3 separate regions of the Homo sapiens genome follow, and all the other regions are linked to region 3. The links are contacts of gene promoters, found by promoter capture Hi-C in blood cells and fetal thymus (Javierre and others, 2016). All regions are on one chromosome and are shown on one strand. Each heading gives the region's core, a stretch centred on a gene start or on the middle of the fragment in contact. The rest is flanking DNA. Distances are from core to core; before and after follow the strand shown. Region 1 has its middle 34 kb from the start of LINC02067. Region 2 overlaps LINC02067 (long intergenic non-protein coding RNA 2067). Region 3 holds the start of B3GALNT1 (beta-1,3-N-acetylgalactosaminyltransferase 1 (Globoside blood group)).

The links. Contacts are between HindIII fragments. The CHiCAGO score rates a contact against its expected background, and 5 or more counts as called.
Region 1: a contact is called between a fragment that was not itself captured here and the fragment with the promoter of B3GALNT1 in region 3, in 1 of 17 cell types (total CD8 T cells). The highest score is 5.6, in total CD8 T cells.
Region 2: a fragment that was not itself captured here is called in contact with the fragment with the promoter of B3GALNT1 in region 3 in 2 of 17 cell types (total CD4 T cells and naive CD4 T cells); the score reaches 6.7 in total CD4 T cells.

Annotation. Positions count from the first base shown.
Region 1 is chr3:161,457,729-161,462,373 of GRCh38, reverse strand. No RefSeq gene overlaps it. Among named protein-coding and RNA genes, the nearest start is that of LINC02067, 34 kb to the right of the region's middle. The HindIII fragment of the contact is 258 bases long and covers 2,935-3,192 here.
Region 2 is chr3:161,440,415-161,445,245 of GRCh38, reverse strand. LINC02067 (long intergenic non-protein coding RNA 2067) reads right to left here. Exons shown (of 4, transcript NR_102265.2): 3 at 1,550-1,645. Among named protein-coding and RNA genes, the nearest start is that of LINC02067, 16 kb to the right of the region's middle. The HindIII fragment of the contact is 2,855 bases long and covers 658-3,512 here.
Region 3 is chr3:161,104,054-161,108,621 of GRCh38, reverse strand. It overlaps B3GALNT1 (beta-1,3-N-acetylgalactosaminyltransferase 1 (Globoside blood group)), which reads left to right and starts at 3,273. Exons shown (of 5, transcript NM_003781.4): 1 at 3,273-3,387; 2 at 4,216-4,303. It overlaps LOC124909453 (a long non-coding RNA gene), which reads right to left and starts at 3,941. Exons shown (of 2, transcript XR_007096147.1): 1 at 3,737-3,941; 2 at 1-2,051. RefSeq lists silencers at 3,369-3,458, 3,469-3,718. The HindIII fragment of the contact is 4,654 bases long and covers 518-4,568 here.

The DNA of each region.
Region 1 (4,645 bases), core at 1,814-4,313, 350 kb before region 3:
AAAAGACAAAAAGTGGCAAAAATATTATCATAAAATGATTTAATTTAAAAAACACAAAAAATGACAAAAATATTATTATATAATGATTTAAAAATCAATTCAGCAAGAGGATATAATTATAAAGATATATGCACTCAACACCAGAGCAGCCAGATATGCAAAGCAAATATTATCAGAGCTAGAGAGAGTGATAAGGCCTAATAAAATAAAATTTGGGAACTTCAACATCCTACTCCCAGCAGTGAACAAGTCATATAGACAAAAAATCAACATAGAGACATCAATTTAAACTGCACTATACTCCATTATGATCTAATAGACATTTACAGGACATTTCATCAAACAGCTGCAGAATACACATTCTTCTAATCAGCACATGGGATATTGGAAAGGCCATACATTAGAGCTAAAAATGAGTCTCAAAAAAAATTTTAATCAAAATCATAGCAATTATTTTCTCAGACCAAAATGGAAAAATTCTAGAAATTAATAAAAAGAGAAACTTTGGAAACATATAAATACATATACATTTAAAAACAGACTCCTGAATGACTACTAAGTTGATGAATAAGAAGGGAATTTAAGAATTTCTTGAAACAAATGAAAATTAAAACACAACATGCCAAAACCTATGGGATACAGCAAAAGCAGTGCCAAGAGAGAAGTTTATAGCAATAAACGCCTATATTAAAGAAGTAGATAGATTTCAAAAAAACAACCTAATCATGTAGCTCAGAGAACCAGAAAACAAGAACAAACCAAATCCAAAATTAGTAGAAAAAAAAGAAATAAAAATTAGAGCAGAATTTTTAAATTGAAACTAAAAAATACAAAACATCAATGAAAAAATTGTTTTTTGTGAAAATAAACAAAATTGACAAATAACTAGCTACACTAACTAAGAAAATAAGAGAGAAGACCCAAATAGATAAAATCAAAAATTAAAAAGACGAGGAAAGAACAACTTATACCACAGAAATAAGAAGGATAATTAGAAATGTTTATGAAAAAACTGTCAACAAGTTGAAAAACATAGGGGAAATAGATAAATTTCTGGACATATATAACCTACAAAGATTGAACCAGGAAGATACAGAAAATCTGAGTTTACTAATAATGAGTAACAAGATTAAATTAGTGATAAAAAGTCTCCCAATTTAAAAAACAAAAAAAGCCCACAACCAAATAAATTTACTACTGATTCTACCAAACTTTGAAAGAACTAAAACAAATTCCTCTCAAACTATTCCAAAAAGTTGAAGGGGGAATTCTTTCTAACTCATTCTATGAGGCCAGCATTATCCTAATACCAAAAACAGACAAGGACACACAAAAAAGAAAACTGCAGACCAATAGCCCTAATGAAAACAGACTCAAAAATTCTCAAAAAAAATGTTAGCAAACTGACTCTAGCAGCACAACAGAAAGATAATACATCATGGTCAAATGGGGTTTATCCCAGGGATACAAAGATGACTTAACATATACAAATCAATAAATGCAATCTATCATATCAACAAAATGAAGAACAAAAAAAATGTGATCATCTCAATAGATGCAGAAAAAAATCATTTTATAAAATTCAACATCCCTTCATAATAAAAATTCTAAACAGAGTAGTTATAGAAGGAACATACCTCAACACTATAAAGGTTATATATGACAAACTCAAAGCTAACATCATACTGAATGAAACTGGAATGGAAAAAGACAAGGATGTCCACTTTCACCAATCTTATTCAACATAGTACTGAAAGTTCTAGCCAATTCAACAAGACAAAAGAAAAGAAATAACATCTAAATTGCAAAAAAAGGAAGTCAAATTGTCTCTCTTTGTGGATGACATAATCTCATACATAAAAAGGCCTAAAGCCCTCATCAGGAAAAAATGCTTAGAATGAATAAATGAATTCAGCAAAGTTGAAGGATAAAAAATCAACATACAAAAATTTCTACTGTTTTTATACACCAATAACAAACTACCTGAAAAAGAAATTAAGAATACAATTCCATTACAATACAAAAAGAGGCTAATTGACTCATGGTTTCACAGACTGTACAGGAAGCATGGCTAGGAAGGCCTTAGGAAACTTAGAATCATGGCAGAAGGCAAAAAGGAAGGAGGCACATTTTACATAACTGGAGCAGGAGGAAAAGAGAGAAGGGAGAGGTGTTACACACTTTTAAACAACCAGATCTCATGAGAACTCACTATTATGAGAATAGCAAGGGAGAAGTTTACATCCATGACCTAATTACCTTCCACCAGACCCCTCCTCCAACATTGGAGATTACAATTTGACATGATATTTGGGCAGGGACACAAATCCAAACCATATTATTCTTCCCCTGGTCCCTCCCAAATTTCATGTCCTTCTCACATTGCAAAATGCAATTATTTCTCCTCAACATTCCCCCAAGTCTCATTCATATGTGGGAGCTAAAAAAGTTGAGTTCTGAATTAGAAAAGAGAATTGTGGTTATTAGAGAATATGAAGGGTAGAGGGGAAGGGAGAACAAGGAGAGTCTGATTAATGGATATAAAGTTATGGCTAAATAGGAGGAATAAGTTATAGTGTTCTATAGCACTGTAGGGTGACTACAGTTAATAATAACTGATTATATATTCTCCAATAGCCAGAAGAGAGGATTTTCAATGGTCCCAATAGAAAGAAATAATAAAACTTTGAGGTGATGTATATGGTAATTACTCTGATTATAATCACATTGTATACATGTAACAAAATATTACTCTGTATCCCATAAATATGTACAATTATTACATGATAATTGAAAATAAATTTTTAAAAATAAATACAATAAAGATAAATCAACATAAGACAGGTTGATAGGAGAAAAACCATTTTAATTACATGCATACACATGGAAATCCCACAAAATATGAAACCCAAAGAAGCTCAGATAATTAAAGCTTATATAGCATCCTGAATTTCAGCAAAGAATAAAGGCTTGGGGTCTATGGAGAATGGTAGAAACAAGTTATGGGAAGCTGAGGGGAGAAAATGTATAGTGAATAAAATCTGTCTTATTATACAGATAAAAAGTCTCTCAGATAAGAAAAGTTGTCTTGGAGCAGCCCTCTTCCTGATGCAGATATCTTTACTAATGCAGATATCTTTACTAATGCAGATTTACTTTATAGTTGCAAATTTTCTTTATAAAAGGGAAGCTTTTAGGAGTTACTCCTGTATCTGCAGTTTCTCAAAATAACCTGTGCGAAATATGCTAAAGATGTGTATTTTGGGGTGGCATGTTCTGGTTACTCACATTCATATTTTGGGGTGGTATGTCCTGAGCCCCAACAAGTACAAATAGTTTATTGTGCTCAATAGGACCAAAGGAGGAGTGGGAAGTGAGACAGGGCAGGGAAGGAAACATATATATGGTGAGTTATCAGGGAGATTATTCCTATGGACAAAAACGTCTCAATACCATCTGAGAACTCAGGGACAGTGTGGAACACACTTCAGAATTATTCCACCTGATGGGTTAGGATGCTGGGGTTTTTATTCACCCACTGGCCATCTGTCATTTTTTTTTTGGATTTTTGTTTCATTTGGTTTGGGTTGAAGTTTTTTTTAGTGTTTCCCAGACATGCTTTTATAATTTTCTATGGTAAGAACACTTAACATGAGATCTACCCTCTTAATAGATTTTTAAGTGCACCATACAATATTATTATCTATATGCATAATGTTGCCCATCAGATCTTTAGAACTCATTCATCTTGTGTCACCAAAATTTTGGGCCTATTGATTAATGACTCACCATTTCTCCCTTCCTCTAAGCCCTGGCAATCACCATTTTATTCCTTACTTCTATGAATTTGACTATTTTAGATAGTTCATACAAGTGAAATCATGAACAACTTGTCCTTCTGTGACTGATTTATTTCACATGACATTGGTCTGTCAATTATTTTACGAATATTACACCAAAAGCAAAAATAAACAAACTACATCAAACTAAAAAGCTTCTGCACAGCAAAAGAAACAATCAAAAGAGCAAAAAGGGGCTGGGGGTGATGGCTCATGCCTGTAATCTCAGCAATTTGGGAGGCCAAGGTGGGTAGATGCCTTGACCCCAGGAGTTCAAGACCAGCCTTGGAAACATGGTGAAACCTCATCGCTGTTAAAAATGCAAAACTTAGCAAGTCTCATAACTCAGTCTCAAAATAAATAATTAAATAAAAATTTTAAAACAGAGAGCAAAAAGGAAGCCAACAGATGTGAGAAATTATTTACAAACAATATGTATAATAAGGGTTTCATTTCTAAAACATATAAGGACCTCCTACAACTCAATAGCAAAAAATAAACTAATGGCCCAATTAAATAAATGAGCTAAGGACTTGAAGAGACATTTCTCCAAAGAAGGCATACAAATAGCCAACAGCTACGTGAAAAGGTACTCAACAAAAGCTAAATCCAAATCAAAACTATTATGAGATATCATCTCACACTTTTTAGGATGACTACTATCAAGAAACAAAAGACAGCAATTGTTGGCAAGGATGTGGAGAAACTGGTGCACTGTAGGTGGAAATGAAAACTGGTGCAGCCATTAGGGAAAACAGTATGAAGGCTTCTTTAAGCCTTAAAAATAGAGCTACCATAATATCCAG
Region 2 (4,831 bases), core at 836-3,335, 340 kb before region 3:
ATAACAACACCAGAATTCCCCAGGACTTTGAACTGAATATGAGTCAAGTCTTCTCTTTTGTCCTCATATCAATGAGGGTATCTTTAGCAAGTCTGAATTACTGGTGTTATTTTTGTTAGCAAGGAAAAAAATTGCAAATCCAGATTCCTATTTTAAGGTTGTTTAAATAAAATAACTTTCAAAAGAACTCTGCCACATTGCCAGGAATCTATATATCACTATCTCCTTGGCTTTCCCATTTCCAGAGTACAAAAGTATATCTTCATCCAGTATCAAAAAGTTCACATACTTGCCCACCTCTAGCAACAGCTTAGTCAAAGAGCTTGTAATTTTTCAGTAGCACCCATTGTCACTGCAGAACCCGGAATCGAAAGATTTACCTTAAGTATGTAACCAAAAATATTTGTTATGTAAGTCAAGCCACAAGCGAGCTATTCTCATGCCAAAATTATTTTAAAAGTAGATTTACTTTCTTTTTCTCTCAAGAAAAGGAAAGTTCCATGTGACATTCAATCACTTATTACCAGATTTGCTCTTGGGAAAGCCAGTAAATGGTGGAATAGAGAAGAACTTTGTATCTTGCTCCCATCTCTTGACAAAACATCTTGAAATGATGCCGTTATAAATTTAACACTTTTCATAGCAGTAAGCAAAGCTTCCTTCAAAAATTTTGAAAAGGCTTTTGATGCCAATGCATGCCCATGTCAACAACAGTGAATCACCCTGACATGTTACCAAGCAGTAAAGCGCAGGGTGGTGCCAAGCATTACAGGGGTCCTGTCTGCACACAAGAAATTGAGATTTTTCTTTCAGGCAAATTTTGCTTGGCTAAGAAACACTGCATCATTTTGAAACTGTTGACAACCTTTACAGTTTCCAAAAGAGGTTCACAAAATGGGACTTCTTGGATAGCATCAGAATGCACACAATAGACAATCAATAGGAGCTGGCTACACTGAAAAACACTGTGGAAGAAACTAGTGTTGACTTTATGATCAGTCATGAAACATTAGGAGAAATGTCAACAGCTACATAGAGAATTGTGTAATTTAGGAAAGACACTACTTCAATTATCTTCCCTGCCCCATGCTACTCCTAGCTTGACTATTCCCAGGGCACACGGTTTCATCAAGATCTCTCGATGTGAGTAGTTTCTTTCTTTCCTGGTGCCCAATTAGCATTCTAACAGGCATCAAGTCAAGGCTTTTATTTAGGGTCAAATATGAGTGTGTATAAAATCCTGGCTGTTTCAAATCAAGTCTTTGTTTCAAGAAAAAGATTCACACTTTCCAATGAGTTTCAGAATGGTCAGACATGAAGTATCTCCTTGGTTTTGTTTGGGATTTGGGATACCATTGACAAGAACTCAGCCACACAGGAATCATGCCAGCTTTTGTGTTGGTGATAAAAGAGAAACCCAATGAAATATACATTTCATCATTTTAACCATGTGAGTATCTCAATTACAAAATATAAGCCTCTTCTCATTCCTGCTAGGCTGATAGAATGAGTTCAGTTTTCTGTTATAAGCAGAAACAGCTTCTCCCACCTCCTCAGGTTTCCAACACAGCTCAGAGCAGGCAGACGTTTCCAGCTCTCCCCATCCATGTTGGGTACTTCCACACATTCCCCCTTACTCTTCTTCCTAGAAGAAGAAGATTATCAATGGATAGGTCATTGGCCTGCATTTTATGAGCCGCTGAGGCTGCTTTTTCTTAAAAGGCTAGCAGCCATGTTCTGGTGTTTCTCTTCTATTCTGTTTTTTAGTCTAATTAGCACGTGTATGTGGCTCTGGTTCTTTGGAGCAAGTTCATAACGTTTTCTGCATTCCAGCAGCTCCTCCCTAGACTGGGAAGATAAGTCTGCTCAAAATCTTCTCTTCAGATCCAGCCATCTTAGTTCTGAAAAAGCCTGTTCAAGCCTCGGGCCTTAGTAGCTCTCCTGTCCTCTAACTTAGCTTACCAGAACAGCCATATTATAGAGGGATATTAGTCAAGGATTCAATCAGGAAAATAGAAAGCTCTCTAATTATTTAAAACAGAAAAGAACCTAATCCAGAGAATTAAGCTACTATACTATTGGAAGGCCTAGAGGAAGACAAGAGGGGAAAGTAATGTCTCTCAGAGACCAGGACCTGCAGGAGGCCACACTGGTCTGCCCTAAGCAGTGGGCAGCCATCACAGAGCACACATGCACTGCTGCTGCTGCCACTACTCCTGCCACTGGCACCTTGCAAGCATTCACAGGTGCATGTCAGCAATGCAGCTGGAACCAGAAGTCTAGGGCCTTCAAGTGACTTCTACCCGCTCCCTCTCATCACACAGGAGTCCATCCCATTAGAAGAACCAAACTGGAAACCAGCTGTCAAGGGGGTCTGGGAAAGGTGGTTCTCAGGAGTTCTGCCCCAGTGGTACAAGACAGGTATAGGCCTGAGTACTCCCAGACAATAACAGGTACATTGGTAATTATAATCATTTAATAAATAGTCATGTTGTTTTCTTTCTAGCTCCCAATCTTTGTGTATTGCCTTCTGCCAGAACTCTACAATAAAGGAGGAATGGAAGTGAAATTTGGGCAACAAACTCTATCTGAACCCTAATATTTTTTCTGCATTTGCCAAAAGCAGGTATAGCAATTTCAATGACTTATCATTCAAATCAGAGTAGTTTATTAATTTTGTAATAAAACCATACATACAGACACAAATTTTATATGAAGCAGTAAAAGAATATCCTATAACCCACACGCAAGAAAGTAATTTTGTGAACCTCTAATAATGGGGTGATTTCTGAGTTTCTGCTGAGTCCCGTGCTAAAGGTAGGCCAGAATGTGTGTTTGAAGAGAATGACAATTGAGAGAAAGGGGTGAAGGTTTGGGGGATGAGTTGGGGGGAAATTGTTTTATTTTCTACTGAAAGGACTGGATGGAGGAGAAAGAGAGAAAGAGTAGAAGAAGTAGGAGAGAGTGGCCAAAACAATTTTAAGAGCAGAGATGCCTAATACTCACTCTTACTTTGTTTGAAATGTTGTGATAATGAGTTTCCTTTTATATCCATACACATTGAGTGGGGTTTTAAAAGAAAACAAAGAGCTGATTTCACACTCAGATTGATGCCAGAGAGGAGGTAAAGAAAAAGTCACAAAGCACAGAATGGAGAACCAGAACTCAAGAAAGAAGAAATCAGACTCAGAGATGCCCCAAGGGTGTGTCCCTAGAGAGTCCACAAAAATCTTGGGAACAGCACTGGACTTTCCCACAGAGTGTGGAATAGAGACTAAGTCAAACCTTTCTAGATCTTAGGGAGAATGATACTTATGTTATACTTTTGTACACTTGACTCATAGGAAATTTGGTACAATAGGAGTTCCATTGCTATGAGCCTCAAGTGTCTGCTATGGTACCATTGGTAGACTGGGCTATCCTGAGCCAGCCCTTTTTTGTCACCATTGCATTATATCCATGGGCCTGGCATCTAGCTACAGATCACAGTAAGGAAAGAGAACACAGAAGCTTGAGCCAATTGTTCCTTTATAAAAGTCAGTTTTGCAGTTTTATATAGATCTAACATTCAAAATGGCCTATGGTCACTTAATAGGAATTCCACGGCTGGTTAGCAGTGGCTAGATTGGGGCATTAAAGTTAGCCTGGTATTTTTTCATTGTCTTCAAATATTATTGTGGCATAGACAGGCATGGGAAGTTAAAGTAAACTAAAATTACAAATGCCATCCAAAGGTGGGGAAAGGGAGATAAAAAGAGTATTACGTCCTGATTTCTTATCTTCTATTGAGATACCTTCCTATTAATTCTTTGCCTGAAATCACAAGCATTTATTAGATTCGAAAGATGTGCTTACTTAAGGGAAGAAAAATAGAGGTAACCTAGGCATTCAGAAGGAATCATCTAAGTTTGTATGTTTGTGCATCTTTGTGGTGAGTGTGTATATATTTAATTTGAAGAGTTTAGGAGTGTTAGGTTTTCCAAGCTACTATATTTATAGTCACATTTTATTTTCTTCAACATTTTCTAATTGTATGTTAGACCCAATATCAACAAACAAACAAAAATATTAATAATCATAATGGCAGAGCACATTTGCTTTAATTCTAATCAATAAATCTTAGATTATATGACATGATAACAATCCATTTTTAGCTCGTAAACAGTTGCAGTACAAGATATTTGAGCTGAAACAAACCACAATAATGTAATTTTATATATTAACATAAAACATTTTTTCATAATACCATTTTCTGAAAAACAGGAAGAAAATTTGAAAAAAAATTTTAAGTCTAAGTATTTGTATACCTGGTTTTTAAACTCCTGATATGTCCCCTAGAAGGTAACTCATTGGCCATGGCTTTAAAACTCCTGGCATAGTGTGTGCTTGGTGACAATGGATTGCTGTCTGTCAAAAAGCAGAAGGCTTGCATAGTGGAGAAAGGTTAAGAAAAGGCTGCAGTCAGATGGAGCTAGCACTAAAGACCCACTCAAGGAAGATGGACTTAATCCTACAAGTCAGCAAGAGCCACCTGCTACAGAGGAGCTTTTTGACAATGCAGTTTCTTGGGCACTACCTCAGATCTAATAAATCAGATCATCAGGGGCAGGGCCTGGGGATCTGTATTTTTCATGGCCCTCCAGGTGATTCTTACTCATGCTAGTATTTGAGAACAACTTCTTTAGGTGGCGATGGACTTTTGCAGGCATGGGGCTTTTATTTGCTATTTTTTTATTTGTTTAAAGCAGAGGGGTATAATAAAAACACAAATTTTAGTGTTTAGTGGTAGGCTGGGCACAAGGAGTCCTAGTAGGGCATTACTTTAATTGCC
Region 3 (4,568 bases), core at 2,024-4,523:
ATAGAAAGAAGGATGAAGTGAGATTTGAACTTGGATGAGTGATAAATGGAGCTGCTTTATACAAATCAGGAATCCAGGAGAATAAGCACATTTTATGGGAAGGTACTGAGGTTGGCCTAGACATGTTAAGTTTGAGGTATCTCTGAGACATTTGTTCGCCAGTTTCCCTACCTGCCAAATGATAGTAATGACAGTATCCACCTCCACAGTATTGGTGTATTAATAATCAACTGATAAAGTGTATGTGAATATACTGTATTAATGTTTAAGTGTCACATACGTGTTACTAGCATGACTCTCGCATGTATTTGTAATCTGAAGGACAGAGGCAGAAGGCTGAAGATATTGTCTACATTTGCACAAAGGCAGTGTCATATATCAAATTCAGTAAGACAGGAAGTGCTGGAGGAAAATGCTGAAGAGAATGAAAGATGTGGATAGTCAAGTAAGAAATATAACAAATCATCAATTAGAAATACACCCCAGCTGCTTCTAAGCATAATAAATTGTCAAAGCTTTCCATCAAGTGGAAGAAGACAGTCACAGTCAGATTTTGGAGAAGGCACATATTGAAAAATTCAACTGAACAATTAGTAGAAGCATTTCCTGTAGATTAGAAACCCTGCCCAGAACCACATCTGCCTTGAAACATATATAGCACATATTACGAAAGAACTGTTGTTACATTTCAATTTTCATCTGCAGACAAATTTAAGGTTAAAATGTAATATAGCCTTAAAGGTGACTGCTAGTTCAAACTTATCATTAGGCATATGGCTTCCTAACTCTTGATTATATGTTCGGAAAATTGCTAGGAAGGTTTCCATCTTATTGGTCAGATGGTATGTGAGTGTGACATATAACTCTTTGATGTGTGCTTTTCTTCTGGAATTTGTAGATAGTGCAGGATACTTAAATTTATTTTGCTTTTGTGAAGTAAGCAAATAACCTGACTTTAAACCTCAGTAAGGCTATTCAGCTAAATTCCATATATATCTATTGAAGATATATTACAGCAAGGCAGTGCGGTAGGGCCTGTCTCTTCCCTCAGGTTGCTGATAATCTCATGGCAGAGACATCTGTAAACAAGTTCTGAGGCAAGTGAGTGCTCACAGAATTATAAACAGGTTTGGGTAGTTTGGGGAGAGAAGTGAGTAAGAACAATAGCTGCCATCAGATATCATAAATTTGAAGTTTGATGATTTACTTTCAAGAATAAGGTTCCTGCCACTTAGTTTAGCTAGTTCTGGCCACATTATCTGCAGCTCCTTCCATCAAGAGGCAGAGACTATTTGCCTGCCCCTTGGATTTGGAGAGGCCTCACAATTTGCTTTGATTTGTAGAATTTGGCATATATGATCTTGTGTGACTCCCAAGTCTAGGCCTTAAGAAATTTTACAGCTTCTGCCTGCTCTCTTCTGGATGTTGCCCACAGACCAAAAACATAGCCTACTGCAGGATAAGAGGCCACATGGAGCCAACAGCAGACACATGAGTGAGGCCACCTTGGACTTTCAGCTTAGCTGATTCTCCAGTTCAGGGATCAGCAAACTACAGCCTGTAGGCCATAGCCTGCTTCTGTATGGCCCTTGAGCTATGAATAGCTTTGGGTTTTTAATAGTTTATAAAAATTAAATAAAAAAGAATATGTGACAGAGACAAAGTCTAAAATATTTACTATCTGATCCTGTTTTACAGAAAACTTGGCCAACCCCTGCTACAGCTGAATGTATCTATACGAGTGAGCCAAATCAAAACCAGAGAGGAACCACATAACCAACCTTCAGAATTATGAGAAATATTAAATTGACATTTTTGCAAGCAACTATATTTTGGGAGAGTTCGATCTGCAGCAATAGATGACTCAATCACAAGCTGATAAATGCTACACAAAGAAAAAGGAGACTGCTTCAAAGGAAATAATCTCATAAAGGTTTTGGGCCTTTTTGTCTCACTTACTTCATTTAGGAGAATTTCTTACCCCAATCTGTTGTCCATGGCTCTGCTTTGCATTCCAGGGAAGTTTTGGCAGCTATGAGCACATATACCTGCTGGTTACTCAAAGGACATTCAAAACATTTTAAAAATGAGTATTGAAATACAACTTTTCTAAAATTTTAAGAAACGGAATTTGTAAAATATAGTATTAATGCCCTAAAGCATTCTTCCAAATAAGAGGTCTATTTTTTCAGCATATTAATCTATCTGCAGTGAAACCTGTCTGGTTTTGTTATTAATGGACCTCCTTGACTTAGTGAGGTGAACTGTCAGCCCAGGTAGGGTGAAGAATGGCTGTGATAAAGGCGTGCAGCAGGGCAGCAATCACTTTACCCTCTGCAAAGGACACAGCTACCTGCCAAGGCTGGAACCAGGAAAACAATCTCAACCATAATTTAGATCTGATTATTATAATTTAGATCTGATTATTTATGCAGTGTCAACTAAGTCCTTGACTTACACTGCTACTATCTAAACTTACTTTTGTTGTATATCCATTTTGATCTCTATATTCACCCCTATTATTTTCAGAGAACCTTCAAACTATCCTAAGTAATTTTGCAGAAAAAGGCTATAAGGAAGAAGCAGTCAGGCCAAAGAGTCAGTAAACAAAAAGAAATGGTGGGCCACGTTTAGTCTTGATGCAAATGTGTGGGTTACAATCAGGGGTGGTGCTCATGGCTGAGCTTGGTAGTGGTTAAATACATGATCCAGACCCACTTGATTTTGAGGAAAGGACCAGTACAATCAATACTGCACATCTTGGTAAAAGGAGTTTGAGGAGATGGATCTGGGAGTTTAGGTCAGCTATGCTCAGGTGTACAAAAGCAACTCCCTGGGACTCCCATCCATACACAGGCCATTGAAACCTGACGTGTCTCTCTTACCCCCATTCCATTCCCCATCGATTCCGGAAGAAGAACTGGCATTTCTTCTGAGACAGCAAAGAACTCCTCCTAAGATTTCCTCTTTCCTAATTAGTTCTGTATGAAGTTTAACAAGAAAATCCCTCCAGGGCCGCCTCGAGGCCATGCACTCACGCAGTTTGGAAAGACGACCAGGGAAAAAGGATCTCAAACAAAAATTCTAGCTCGACGTCTGCCACTAAGTTGTCTAATTTTGGCCAGCATCAACTAAAGGCATACATAACACGGCCGTGCTCGGAATGCAAGGTGACCGCGAGGACCCAGAGGGCGCGCCATGCGAGCTCACAGGGCTGGGGGCCGCCTGGGCCCGCGCGTGCAGCCAGGGGCTTCCGGCCGCGGCCCTGGCGCGTGGTCTGCGCGCGCCCGGCCGTGCGTGCGGATGCGGGGAGGCTGCGTGTGTGCGCAGGGAGAGAACGCCGGCCACCTTCCCGCTTCCGAGCTGGGTGCGCGCCGAGCACAGGAGGTGAGTGAGAAGGGCGGCCCTGCAGGGTCTCCGAGGCGGTTGAGTCCTGCCACTGGGTGGAGGGTATAGCCACCGGACCCGCCTTTCCCGGAACGCGCCGTCCTCGGAAACGCCTAGACCCCGGCAGCTAGGCCGGGAGGCACCGCCCACTCCTCTAGAGCGGAGCGTGGCCCAGGTTGAGCCGCCGCACCGTGGGTCTCGGGTCTCGGTGACGAGCAGCTGCCCGCCTCCGGTGAGCGCGGGAGAAGGGGCCCAGTGGGGCAGTGGGCGACGCGGAGGGCCCAGGCCCAGGCCGCGGCCGCGCCGCATCCGCTGGTTGTCCACCTTGCCTTGCCCCAGGGTGCAATACCTGCCTTGCGTCGCCCGTGCCGCTCCAGCCACCGTCAAATCCGGGTAGCGACCCGGGGCGTTTGCAGCGGTGCCGAGGAAGAGGACGGGAACGGTGTTACGGTATTGGTGGGCCCCTAACAGGCCTGCGGCGAACGCTTTCCCGGAGCGCTAGGGAAGGGCCCCGGCGCAGGGATGTCGGAGGGATTGGGAAGGAATGTGAAACTAAGTGGGGAATGTGGAGAACGGGCGGAGAGAGAAGGAAATCCCACGGGGCTAGGGCTACAGGATTCCTACAGGCAGTGTTAAGGAACATACAGGGCGTTTTAAAAAGATTCCTAGAGGTGCAACGGAGTCTCACTTTTCCAAGCAGTAAGGAATGATGCCATCCTCAAGTACGGGTAGTCTTTGAATTCAGTATCCGTTCGCCTTCTTAATGTTGGATTTAGGAGGGAGATTTGCAGGGCTTTCATGATTTTGTTTCCTCTGCGTTTTGCACAGATTGCCTGCGTTTAGGAGGTGGCTGCGTTGTGGGAAAAGCTATCAAGGAAGAAATTGCCAAACCATGTCTTTTTTTCTGTTTTCAGAGGTAAGGAAAATTTGGGTTTGCAGTGTTCAACTGGGAACAAGTTTTTTAGCTTCTCCCAGGAGGCTTAAGCAAAAGAAGGGCGCTGAATTTGTGCTCTTAGTATGCATGTGTCGATGCCTGATAAAAGCACAAATTACTGAACGCGTATCAGTCTGGAGAACAGAATCGTTTATTACTAACAGATAAGAGACTATGACTTTTTTCCCCTCATAGACTAAAATGTTCGTTCAAATGAATGGCCATTGGATAACTCCAGACCTGAAAA